Linked DNA regions of Homo sapiens: all the other regions are linked to region 3. The links are contacts of gene promoters, found by promoter capture Hi-C in blood cells and fetal thymus (Javierre and others, 2016). All regions are on one chromosome and are shown on one strand. Each heading gives the region's core, a stretch centred on a gene start or on the middle of the fragment in contact. The rest is flanking DNA. Distances are from core to core; before and after follow the strand shown.

Region 1 (3,185 bases), core at 686-3,185, 500 kb after region 3:
CGGAATGAGTCAGCCTTGGCCCTGCCCTCAGAAAGCCTGAGCCAGTGTTGGGAGATAAAGCATCAACAGATGATTGCACCTCAGTGTGATGAGTGCGGTGACAGGGAGCCCCAGGGAGGGTGTCACAGGGAAGTGCCTTTTCTAGCTTTTCACTAAAACACATGTTTGTCGCAGTTCTGTAAGAGGTGGAAAAGGGTCGGGGACCCTGAAGGATGAATAGGAGTTGGCCACCAAAAAGAGGAAATAGCGTGTGCGGAGGCATGGGGATGTTTAAATGCTTGGCAAACCCAACAAGTTGGGTGCAGCTGGAGCATGGGGCTTAACTAAGCTCTTCTGTGTGCCAGGCTCTCTGCCAGGTGTCTTGTGTGCATCAGCCCACCTGATCCTCAGGACAGCCTGGTGAGGAAGTAGTGTTATCCCCATTGAGGACAAAGAGAGCTGAGGCTGAGAGAGGTCAGGCTACTTGCTCCTAAGTCACAGGGCCTGTTCGTAGTGGCAGAACTTGGGTCCCTGGAATTCCAGGGTCCATGTTTCCAGTTAATTCCAGGCATCAGTGAAGTAGAAAGGCCTTAGAAGCTGGAACCCCAGAATGAGGTTTTGAAGACCTAAAACCAAATGGAAAAATCTAAAGGAAACGAGCAATTTTCCATGAACTTTTGTTCCTCCTGAAGCTCTCCAAATCTTCACGTTTCAGAATGTACTGTGCATGGTGCATTTTAAAGCTCTAAATTGACAGTGTAATTCTAGATCGTCACAGGGTTCTCAAAACTGCAGAGTAGGTCTGTTTCCCCCAAAATTTCCATTTATCTCCCTCCAGGAGGAGGGAGGGAAGTTTTTGCCCCTGATTTCAAAATGTCCTACTGTTTCAGATCTCTTCTTCTTCATCATCTTTTTTTTTTTTTTTTCAGCCAGTGTCTTGCTCTGTTGCCCAGTCTGGAGTGCAAGTGCAGTGGTGCAGTCATAGCTCACTGCAGTCTCAAACTCCTGGGCTCAAGTGATCTTCCCACCTCAGCCTCCTGAGAATCTGGGACGACGGGTGTGTGACACCATGCCCAGCAATTTTATTTTTATTTTTATTCATTTATTTTGTTTGGGTTTTTTTTTTTCTGAGACAGGGTCTCCCTCTGTCGCATAGGCTGGAGTGCAGTGGCACCATCTCGGCTCATTGCAACCTCCGCCTCCTGGGTTCAAGTCATCCTCCCGCCTCAGCCTCCTGAGTAGCTGGGATTACAGGTGTGCACCACCATAACCCAGCTAATATTTTTATTTTTAGTAGAGACGGGGTTTCACCATTTGGCCAAACTGGTCTCGAACTCCTGACCTCAGGGGATCTGCCCGCCTCAGCTTCCCAAAGTGCTGGGATTACAGGCGTGAGCCACCAAGCCCGGCCAATTTTTTTTTTTTTCAATAGAGACCAGAGTGTCTCTGTGTTGCCCAGACTGGTCTTGAACTTCTGTCCTCAAGCAATTCTCCTGCCTTGGCCTCCCAAAGTACTGGGTTTACAGGTGTGAGCCACTGTGCCCAGCTCTCATACCTCGTCTTGATGCAGTAGAAGTAGTGGTTAAGCCTGGAATCAGATCTTGGTTTTCCCTCTCTGAGCCTCAGTTTCCTCATCTGTAGAGTAGACTTCCTTCACGGGTGGTTGTGAGGATTTAATGTATGTATAGGGATAAGGCCCAGAACGTAAGTAAACTCTAAGTACATGGTAAGTGGCAGTCACTGCTTACAAGTGGAGCCAGGGTTCAGGGTCAGAGCTAGAGACCTACAGGGAAGAGTAGGTGAGCTGTCGGGGCTAGTGATGGAGAGAGAGAAGAGACTGGAGATCCAGCTTGGGGATCCCCTTGCTTCCTGGCCCAGGAGCCACCATGGAGAGTGAGAAGCTGCCAGAGAAGCAGGAGGAGGATGGAGAGAATGTGCTACCATGGAAACTGGAGGAGGAGGGCGTTCCCAGGAGGAGGGAGTGATGGATAATGTCAAGTGTCATAAGAGAGGATGCGAGTAGGGAGGGCAGGAGGGTGATGGGAGCTCTCCAATTTAGTTTTTTACATGGCCCAGGCAGCCCCCAAGCCTGGATCAAATCCCAGCTCTCAAGCTAACTGGCTGTGTGACCTAGACAAGGGATTTGCCTTCTCTGAGCTTCAGTTTCCTTCTAGAGTTGAGATGTGGGAATTGGTCCATCTCTAATACGATCATCAGCCTCACTTAATAAGAGTCCTAGCTTTGCCGAATTCTTGGCCACGTGCTAGCAGTGTGATCTTAGGCAAGTCACTTCACCTCCACGAGAGCACTCTCTGAAAGCTAGAGATATGGTAAGCAAAGTGCCACCAAAGTGCCTGGCACATAGTGGGGCCTCGATACAGGCTTATTCTCTGATAATTACACGTGTGCCAGAGGCAGCTGCTCTAAGGAGGCTTGCTGGGCTTGGAATTAGAAATGCTCCTCAAGGGCTGGGTGCAGTGGCTCACGCCTGTAATCCTAGCACTTTGGGAGGCCAAGGCGGGTGGATCATGAGGTCAGGAGTTCAACACCAGCCTGACCAACATGGTGAAACCCTGTCTGTACTAAAAACACAAAAATTAGCCAGGCGTGGTGGCGTGCACCTGTAATCCCAGCTACTCAGGAGGCTGAGGCGGGAGAATCGCCTGAACCCAGGAAGCAGAGGTTACAGTGAGCCAAGATCTTGCCACTGTACTCCAGCCTGGGCGACAGAGCGAGACTCTGTCTGAAAAAAAAAAAAAATTAAAAAGAAATGCTCCTCAAGTTGGAGAGGGCCCACTAGCATCCTGAGAGGACTTGGAAGAACAACAGTCCAGGCTGGGCACCTGCTGGGTCTCTGTCCAAAGGCCAGCCCTCTCTTTGTGTCAGCCGCAGATCCCTCACCTAGGGCATGACTACTGGCTGCCAGCTCCCACTAACACCTGCTGCAGATCCAGACTGAAGCCGGCCCCAGCGGCCCCAAAGCCCCTAGGAAGTGACCACCCCCCATCCCTGGCACCCAGATCCTGGCCCCTGCACTCACACACAAAACACATACAGATGCCTCTCTTTCATCATGTATTTATTCCTTTATTTCTGGGAGCCGGGAGGAGTGACGGGAGCAAATCAGGACCTGGCCGCCCCACGCTGAGCTTGCAGATATTGAGAGTTGGGTGACAGATGGCTGTGTGGTTCAGGCTGCAGGCAGC
Region 2 (2,931 bases), core at 324-2,823, 340 kb before region 3:
TCTGTTAGAGGAAGAACTTGGAAGGTAAAGATGTTTAGAGCTTAAGCTTTAATACTATGCTTTTTATCCTGAAAGAGAAATAAGAATGAACTTCTTGAGCAAGAGAAATGCTCTCATCAAGTAGTAAATGGGGTATAAGTGTGACAAAAGACACAGCAGAAAAGCAGCACACACCTCACATACTGCTATGACAATTCATACAGGTCAGCAAAATTCCAACCCATGGAGTCTTCTGCTCATTTATAGGACAAAATGCCACTGAAAATAGACTAGAACAAAATCAAGGCGTTTTCTGGACACCAACATGCAAAAGGGAAGGCTTCAATTCTATTAAGCAGCTCACATTCAAAGGCTAAACTACTTATAAACCACACTCCTAAGCTGTGGTTTGCCTAACACAAAAAGCATGCACAAATCCAAGTATCACCCCCTTTCTACTTTAGAAGACAGAGCTCCTGTATTATCCAATTTGTTTGTTTGGAGATACAGGTAGATTAAAAACAAGAAACAATAATAATAATTTTAAAACACACACACAACCATGCCTATTTACCTTGAATGGGATAAGAATAATGTGCTGGGCTTGGCTGGCTTGTGGTTAACCCTGTAGTGCAGGTAAGAACACTGTGTTGACTTGGAGATGGAGTCTGAATTAAACCACTTTCAGGTTTCATACCTGGCCACAATGCACCTGAATCAGATAAATTGGACCAATTACAAACAATACACTGGGACTGAGGAGCATGGTTATGCTTTCAAATATCAGCCAGTAGGTTTAAAATCTAAATCTTAAAACAAAAATAAATTTGCTTGTAAGAGAAAATTATTGAATCTCCCACTTGTAATATATCACAAGCAAATAACACTTTCAAAGAATTAGGGGATGAGGCTAAAGAAACAAAAAGCTTGCCACAAATCCCAATATGTATATAAATTCATTTCAATGACTGGGGGAAATTGACCAGGATTCAGAAAAAAAGAGTTATTGACACCCAACTGGAGTATCTGTTATAAAGAGTGCCTGATGTTCATGTACAGTGATAAATAATTTATCCAAACTGTCAAGGTAGGAGACATTCCATATAAGTTTAAAATTCACTTACCCATTAAACAAGGACCAAATTTTTCTAAAATATATTAAATACTTCTCTGCCTTCTTAAGCTGGTTATTTTGTTACTTTTGTTTCTTCCGATTAGGAAAGACATACCTGCTTATTTTTATAAATTAAAAACATTACAGAAATACATAATTTAGAAAAAAAATACAGTCATATATAATCCCATCATCCAGACTTAACCACTATTAACAGTTTGCAGAAGAGTCACCCAGATGATTTCTTCTTCTTCTTTTTTTTTTTTTTAAATAAGATAGGGTTTTGCTTTGTTGCCCAGGCTGGTCTTGAACTCCAGGCCTCAAGCGATACTTTTGCCCCAGCCTCCTTTAGTGCTGGGATTATAGGCATGAGCCACTACACTCAGTCCAGATTTCTTCTATGTATTCACTAATCTTCTTTTTAACAAAAATGGGATTGTGATTTTTTGTTGTTGTTGTTGTTGTTAAGAGACAGGGTCTTCCTCTGTCACCTAGGCTCAAATAATCCTCATGCCTCAGCTACAGGAGTAGCTGAGACTATGGGTGTGTGCCACCATACTTGACTAATTTTTTGTAGAGGTGGGGTCTTGCTATGTCGCCCAGGCCAGTCTTGAACTCCTGGCCTCAAGCAATCCTCCACCTTGGCTTTTTAAAGTGTTGGGATTACAGGCATGAGCCACTGCCAGCCAAGGACTGTGTTATACATAGTGTACATAATTTGCTTTTCCACATAATACCTCTAAGATTCATCTTTCCAAGTCAGAACATATAAATCTATCTCATACTGACAAACATCATAGCTGTTCATTTTTATTTTCTTTTTATCATAATGCTCCTGAGTAACAATCTTTCTAAAATATATTTATATCCCTTCCTGCCTTCTGAGCAAGGAGGAAATAGCACACATACCTTTAGATTTTCTCAGTTACTGTTTCAAAAATAAAAACTGTGCTGTGCTACATATATTACAGAGATACCGCAGAGGCTACTGTGATGTGTAAAGACAATTGTTTAGTACTAAATATAACTTAATTATAGTTCTGATTTTTAGGTTCTAATTTCACTGTTTTTCCTCTGTGGTCTGTCACTTCTTGACTTCCTTAGCAGTATCTGCCTTTTAATTTGCAATAAACTAGGCAACCATAAACAAAGCTTTGCATCTGCATGAGAGTCCAAGGATATTCTTTATGAGTGAAACACTCTTAAGTGCATGGTTTTGGTGATAATTTTGGCTACACAAAAGCCTACTTTTAAAAAGAAAATCCTTTTTTTTTTTTTTTTGAGATGGAGTTTCGCTCTTGTTGCCCAGGCTAGAGTGCAGTGGCACGATGATCTCAGCTCATTGCAATCTCCTCCTCCCGGGTTCAAGCGACTCTCCTGCCTCAGCCTCCCTAGTAGCTGGGATTACAGGTATGTACCACCATGCCTGGCTAATTTTGTATTTTTAGTAAAGATGGGGTTTCACTATGTTGGTCAGGCTGGTCTCGAACTCCTGACCTCAGGAGTTCCACCCACCTCAGCCTCCCAAAGTGTTGGGATTACAGGCACAAGCCACCATGCCAGGCCCCAAAAATCTTAATGCCTGGTTGTTCACTGTGTTCTGAATAGCTATGGTTACTGGGTTAGTGTAGTTGAAGCTGATAATTAGGTCTAAGAAGGTTCATCAACCAAACACATTCCATGTATGATATCAATACTAAGGTTAGCCATGACTTCAAACTCAACATTAACTCATCTCATTTATTTGCTCCTACTCTGATAAACTAGGAGTGATTGAATTTATAGCCAATGAACACATATATGCAATTAAAAATACAATACTTTGAGAATGAGAACCT
Region 3 (3,129 bases), core at 481-2,980:
TTTTAGTAGAGACAGGGTTTCATTGCGTTAGCCAGGATGGTCTCGATATCCTGACCTCGTGACCCGCCCGCCTCAGCCTCCCAAAGTGCTGGGATTACAAGTGTGAGCCACCGTGCCCGGCCAATTTTTGTATTTTTAGTAGAGATGTGGTTTCACCATTTTGGAGAGGCTGGTCTCGAACTCCTGACCTCAGGTGATCTACCAGCCTCAACCTCACAAAGTGCTGGGATTACAGGCGTGAGCCACCGTGCCAGGCCAATAAATATATTTTAAATATTTTTTTGAGACAAGGTCTCCCTCTGTCGTCCAGGCTGGAGTGTAGCGACACCATCACAGCTCATTGCAGCCTGGACCTCCCCAGCTCAAATAATCCTCCTATTTCAGCCTCCTGAGTACCTGGGACTACAGGCACGTTCCATCATGCCCAGCTAATTTTTAAAATTGTTTTTGTAGAGATGGGGCCTCACTCTGTTGCCCAGGCTGGCAGGCTGGTCTCAAACTCCAGGGCTCAAGGGATCCTCCCGCCTTAGCCTCCCAAAGTGCTGGGATGAGAGGTGTGAGCCACTGCACCCGGCCAATTTTTTTTTCTTCTTTTTTCTTTTTCTATTGAGACAGGGTCTTGCTCTGCTGCCCAGGCTGGAGTGCACTGGTGCGATCTCGACCCCCCAGGCTCAAGTGATCATCTCACCTCAGCCTCCCACGTAGCTGGGACTACAGGAGCTTGGCACTAGGCCCCGGATAATTTGTTTGTTTGTTTGTTTGTTTGTTTTGCGACGGAGTCTTGCTCTGTCGCCCAGGCTGGACTGCAATGGCAAGATCTCGGCTCACTGCAACCTCCGCCTCCTGGGTTCAAGCGATTCTCCTGCCTCAGCCTCCTGAGTAGCTGGGATTACAGGCATGCGCCACCGCGCCTGGCCAATTTTTTTAATTTTATGGATAGTGTATTTGAAAAGTCACATCGATTTTTCTCCTGGAATGTCCTCTAGATGTGCCGTAGCTTCAAGTTTTACATGTAGGTCTAATTTAGGTTGTGTGATACAATGGGTTTGCATTTAGAAGGGTCCTCTGGCAGCAGCAAGGAAGGTTTTCGGAGGGTGATAGCCTAGGGCCTGAAACTACTGAGACTTGGAGAGAAGTGATGGTGGCTTTCACTAGGTGATAGTAGTGAAGGATATCGAAATGAATTAAAATACTGGGGATGTAGAATGACTGGACTTAATGGCTTGAGGGAAGTGTCCAGAATGATTCCTGGGTTTCTTACGCACAACACTGAGGGTAGATAACTTGCTTGTACGTTTTTTGCACTTCAAATTGGTCCTCAATAAATAGTTTTTCCTTTGGGGAGGTTATGATTGAAATTTGGCCAGTCAGGGATACAGTTTTCTCAAACAACACTCTTGTATCAGTTCCCTTTTTGGGTACTGCCTGGAGCCCAGTATTGAACCCTGTCCTCCCAAGCCCAAAGACCTTTGCCTCCCATAGTACCAGGAAAGGTGCCCAAGTTCTTTTACACACAAGGTGCGCAGAGCGGCCAGCGCATGCCCAGAGAGGTCGTAAGGAGGACGACCGCCCGGAGAGAAAGGACGCACGCTTCCCGCCATTTTGTTCAGCTTGCCGGGCAACCGGCCCCTGCTGGGGACTACAAGTCCCGTAAGCCTCCGCGGCGGCACGTCCTACCCTACACTGTCCAGCCGGCTCCCTTTTTCCCCCTCCCCGGGGGCCAAGGGCTCCGGCTGCTGCCTGGCGGCCAACGGGCCAGGTAGGATTTCCGGGAGAGGCTGCTGTGGAGGCTGAGGAGGCGGCGGCGGAGATCTGGGTAAGTTCAGCGAGCAAGGGAAAGTGAGCAGGACGCGCTCAGTATCAGGCTGCGGCCTCCTCTCAGGCTGCGGCCCCTTTCTTGGCTCTGCGAGAGGGTCCCGGTCCGGGCAGAAGGTAACGGCCCGGGTCGCCGTCGCTTCGGGCCAGGGCGGGGCGGGGCCGCCGCCTCCCTCCTCGGCCCTCCCACAACGGTCCAACCCGGGCTTCTCCGCCTGAGGCAGGGCCCGCGCAGGCTCGCCCTCTCCGCCCCCCGAGACTTGGCTGGGCCCTTTTGTCTGGGCTGCGTTGCTCCCCCTTTGTGTCCGTGCATGGAGTCTCCGCCACGGGGGAGCCTGTTCCCCCGGTCCCCAACAGGGACTGCTCCCTGGGGATCCGGTTACAGTAACCGGATCGGGTCAAAGTACATTTTTCAAAACCGTCCTGCCTCAGACCTCTGCACCCCTGCTGGGCAGAACGGGGGCTTCGGAGCCAGGCGGAGTTTCTGTAAAAACCTGGAGGTTATTATTTAACTTTCAAACATCAGCCTGGGCGGCTTCAGGGCACGAAACTCCCGACGTTTTTCTTGGTGGAGAGATGAGATTAAGGAAAAGAAGCGACCCCTCTCTCCCACCCTCTACACCCCGGCTCCGGGAAACCGGGAAGGCATCGAATTTGCTGCGATGTCTGTGCAGCTCACATCTGTGATCGGTGGACCAAAGAACCAGTGGTGAATGGTAGAATGGCAGTTCACGCACCTCCCAAATCTCGGAGGAGAGTGACTTACAGGGCATCACTGATTGCTTGCAAAAAAAAAAAACCCTCCAGTGCTTCATTCGGACACTCAGCTCCTCGCTCCTTCCAACCTCTTCCTTTTCTTGTTCTTTTTAAAACAAACAGTGGAAGGAAAAAGTCCTTCAGTGGAAGAATTTGCTTTATAGAGGAACCAGAAACCCAGTGGCTTCTAGAAGTCACTTACTTTTTCGCCAAATTAAAGAAATGAATTTCGGGCGTGGTGGCGCGCGCCTGTAATGCCAACTATTCTGGAGGCTGAGGCAGGAGAATCGCTTGAGGCCAGAAGTTCGCGACCAGCCTGGGCAACACAGCAAGACCCCATCTTAAAAAAAAAAGGAATGAAGCCCGTTTAGAAATGAAGCCAGTTTAGGGGATGAGGTGTGGTAGATTCTTACCGGAAACCGCGGAACTGCGTGGATTGTGGATTCGATCAAATTTGGCTAGATAATGGTAACTGTGTATGTCCTCCTGTTGGAAGACTGCATTGCTAGAATCAGCTTAAGGTAAAATTTGTTTGTTTGTTTCATTTAAGAGACAAGA
Region 4 (3,243 bases), core at 533-3,032, 300 kb before region 3:
GAGTTTGAGGTGTGACAGAAAAACTAGCATGAATTTCTTTTCCTTCTTCAAAAGTTCATGGACAGAAGATTAGTTCTTACCATAGATTTTTTTTCTTTCTTTTTGAGATGGAGTCTCTCCCTGTCACCAGGCTGGAGTGCAGTGGTGAGATCTCAGCTCACTGCAACCTCCGCCTCCTGGGTTCAAGCGATTCCCCTGCCTCAGCCTCCTGAGTAGCTGGGACTACAGATGCGTGCCACCACGCCCAGCTAATTTTTGTATTTTTAGTAGAGACGGGGTTTCAGCATGTTGACCAGGATAGTCTGGATCATGATCCGCCCGCCTCGGCCTCCCAAAGTGCTGGGATTACAGGTGTGAGCCACAACACCCAGCCCTACCGTAGATCTTAACAATCTCAGCATATGATTTTTTTTCTTTCCTTATTTAGTGGAGAACTTTTACCTTTTCACTTAATGCACTTCTCTTTGGTGTATCTGTATTGCCAGCAACACTACTCTTGCTCTTCAGGGCCATTAAGTAAAATAAGAGTTACTCAGGCTGGGTGCAGTGGCTCATGCCTGTAATCCCAGCACTCTGGGAGGCCGAGGCGGGCGGATCATGAGGTCAGGAGTTCAAGGCCAGCCTGGCGAACATGGTGAAACCCCATCTCTACTAAAAATACAAAAATTAGCTGGGCATGGTGGCGCATGCCTGTAATCCCAGATACTCAAGAGGCTGAGGCAGGAGAACTGCTTGAACCAGGACCCGGGAGGCGGAGGTTGCAGTGAGCTGAGATCACGCCATTGCACTCCAGCCTGGGCAAGAGTGAAACTCTGTCTCAAAAAAAAAAAACAAAAAAGAGTTACTCGAACACACAAGTACTGCAGATACCTCAACAAATGATCTGATAACCAAGACGGCTCCTAAGTGAGTAACAGGCGGGAAGTGTCTACAACATGAATATGTTGGATAAAGGGATGATTCATGACCCAGGCAGGAAAGAGCAAAATGGAGAGAGACTTCATCACACTACTCAGATCAGTGCACAATTTTAAACTGATGAATTATTTGCCTGTGAAATTTTCCATTTAATATTTTCAGACCAAGGTTGATAGAAGGTAACTAAAACCGCCAAAAGCAAAACTACAGATGGTGGGGGTACTACCTTACTTAAAAATGGTTAAAACAGTTAATTTTATCTTACGTATATTTTACAATAAAAAATACAAAAAAAACCCTAAGAGATTAGAAATGCCAAAAAAAGATCAAATCTATAAAGTATTTAAAATATGAAATAAATGGAGAAAAAATCAGTATTTAGAAAACATTGTCAGAAAAACTGAATACCAACATGCAAAAAATATCCACATCAACATATGCTGTAAGTAATTATAAATATATTAAAAAACTAAACATTCAAAAAACTTTGGAGAAAACAGAACAGTAAGCTTATCTCACTATGGAAAAGAGATGAATTTATGGTCAATTCAAAGAAAGCATAAACAAGAATTTGACAAATCCAATTATGTAAAATAAACTTTCATGCAATGAAAAAAACAAATCTAAGATTAAAATATTATAAATTCAGGCAATATCTGCAAGAATTATGATAAATAAAACAATGTTTATAATATAAACCAAACCAATTCAACATTTCCCGATCATCTATTATTAGGGAGCAAACAATGACTAACTCATAAACCTGTCAAAGGATAAAAACAGGCAGTTTAAACCACAGAGATTCAATCGGCACTTGAGAAAAAAGACTGTCTCACTACTAATTGGAGAAATATAAATTGCAATATTCTTAAGATACGACTTCATACATATTAAGCTACCAAAAAAAATCTAAACAATAAAACCAAGTGTTATCTGGGTTATGAGAAGATAAAGACATATTCAGTCAGGCACAGCTGTAAAATCATATGTGTCTTCAGACTGTTCCTGGATAAAGTATAAAAGAGGTCATAAGATTGGCCACAGCCTAATCTGAATAATTTTTCTTAGGTGCTCACCCAAGAATTACATACAGGGGGGAAAGAAGCAAACTCTACTTTTAAAAATAGTATAAGTTTGTTGTCTACAGAAACGAAAAATGAGAAACAAACAACATGTGAACAATAAGTTTAACTACACTGTAACTGTAAACTATTTCAATACAAGCTTATTTAAAAGGTGAATACATGTTTTTATGTTAGTTTAATAATAGCTTACATATAATTTGATAAGAATCAAAAGCAGATACAAAGCTTACATTTAAAAGTATAGTAAAATGTTTAAATACATATTTTTAAATGCTTATATAAAAAATGTTCAAGACATTAAGCTAAAATTAGACACAAATTCTTCATTCTTGCCCCCAACTTTTTCCATTAGAAAAAAAATTTCAGTTTTGAGGGAAAAGCATTTCAAATCACAGTGATCTTGCCTTACCTAAAAAATCTTACCCTGTTTGTGACAACAGTATAGGCAGAAAGATTCATTTGATTTTCTGGCTGTGTCATCTCTTTCCTAAGAAGTTATTTAGACACTGTACACAAACTCAGGGTTGGTTCATTTTACAGCTCTAAGCAAAAGCAACGAACTTCCAATAGTTAAAGAATTTGCTATTGGAAGAGACTTCACATTTGGTTTCACTCTATTGGACAGACACGATTCTCTCTTGGAAATGCAAGAAAATATATAACAAAAGATGCTACAAAGGATAGAGTATCACAGATCATTAAATGTAATCCTTATTTTAAAGTTGAGGAAATTAAACAAAAGAGAAGGCACTGCCTCATGAACCTGTAAGCAGCAGAAACAGTGGTGGAATCCAAAACTCTGAACTCCCTTGTCTGAAGTTTTTTGTCCTCTTTATGTGGAATTGAGCATAAAACCCTCCCTTTTAAAATTACATTCCTTTATGCCTGTAATCCCAGCACTTTGGGAGGCTGAGGCAGGTGGATCACCTGAGGTCAGGAGTTCGAGACCAGCCTGGCCTACATGGTGAAACTCCGTCTCTACTAAAAATAAAAAAAATTAGCGTGGTGGTAGGCACCTGTAATCCCAGCTACTTGGGAGGCTGAGGCAGGAGAATCGCTTGAACCCGGGAGGTGGAGATTGCAGTGAGCCAAGATCGCACCACCGCACTCCAGCCTGGGCAACAAGAGTTAAGACTCCCATCTCAAAAAAAAAAAAAAAATTACATTCCTAATATTATTACCTTAGGCTACTTATTCCTTTTCTTTCATTACATCTCTATCCTATGTTACATTACTTTGA

What was found. Contacts are between HindIII fragments. The CHiCAGO score rates a contact against its expected background, and 5 or more counts as called.
Region 1: a fragment that was not itself captured here is called in contact with the fragment with the promoter of PHACTR4 in region 3 in 7 of 17 cell types (total CD4 T cells, naive CD8 T cells, activated CD4 T cells and 4 more); the score reaches 7.3 in total CD4 T cells.
Region 2: a fragment that was not itself captured here is called in contact with the fragment with the promoter of PHACTR4 in region 3 in 1 of 17 cell types (M1 macrophages); the score reaches 6.5 in M1 macrophages.
Region 4: a contact is called between a fragment that was not itself captured here and the fragment with the promoter of PHACTR4 in region 3, in 1 of 17 cell types (M1 macrophages). The highest score is 5.8, in M1 macrophages.

What each region holds. Positions count from the first base shown.
Region 1 is chr1:28,866,115-28,869,299 of GRCh38, forward strand. OPRD1 (opioid receptor delta 1) reads left to right here. Exons shown (of 3, transcript NM_000911.4): 3 at 1-3,185. Among named protein-coding and RNA genes, the nearest start is that of EPB41, 47 kb to the right of the region's middle. The HindIII fragment of the contact is 6,215 bases long and covers 1-3,185 here.
Region 2 is chr1:28,027,236-28,030,166 of GRCh38, forward strand. EYA3 (EYA transcriptional coactivator and phosphatase 3) reads right to left here. Exons shown (of 18, transcript NM_001990.4): 7 at 554-691. Among named protein-coding and RNA genes, the nearest start is that of EYA3, 60 kb to the right of the region's middle. The HindIII fragment of the contact is 1,340 bases long and covers 904-2,243 here.
Region 3 is chr1:28,368,010-28,371,138 of GRCh38, forward strand. PHACTR4 (phosphatase and actin regulator 4) reads left to right here and starts at 1,731. Exons shown (of 14, transcript NM_001048183.3): 1 at 1,731-1,816. RefSeq lists enhancers at 903-1,858, 1,509-1,803 and a silencer at 1,885-2,104. The HindIII fragment of the contact is 7,867 bases long and covers 1-3,129 here.
Region 4 is chr1:28,065,188-28,068,430 of GRCh38, forward strand. All of the region lies in intron 1 of EYA3 (EYA transcriptional coactivator and phosphatase 3), which reads right to left. Among named protein-coding and RNA genes, the nearest start is that of EYA3, 22 kb to the right of the region's middle. The HindIII fragment of the contact is 715 bases long and covers 1,426-2,140 here.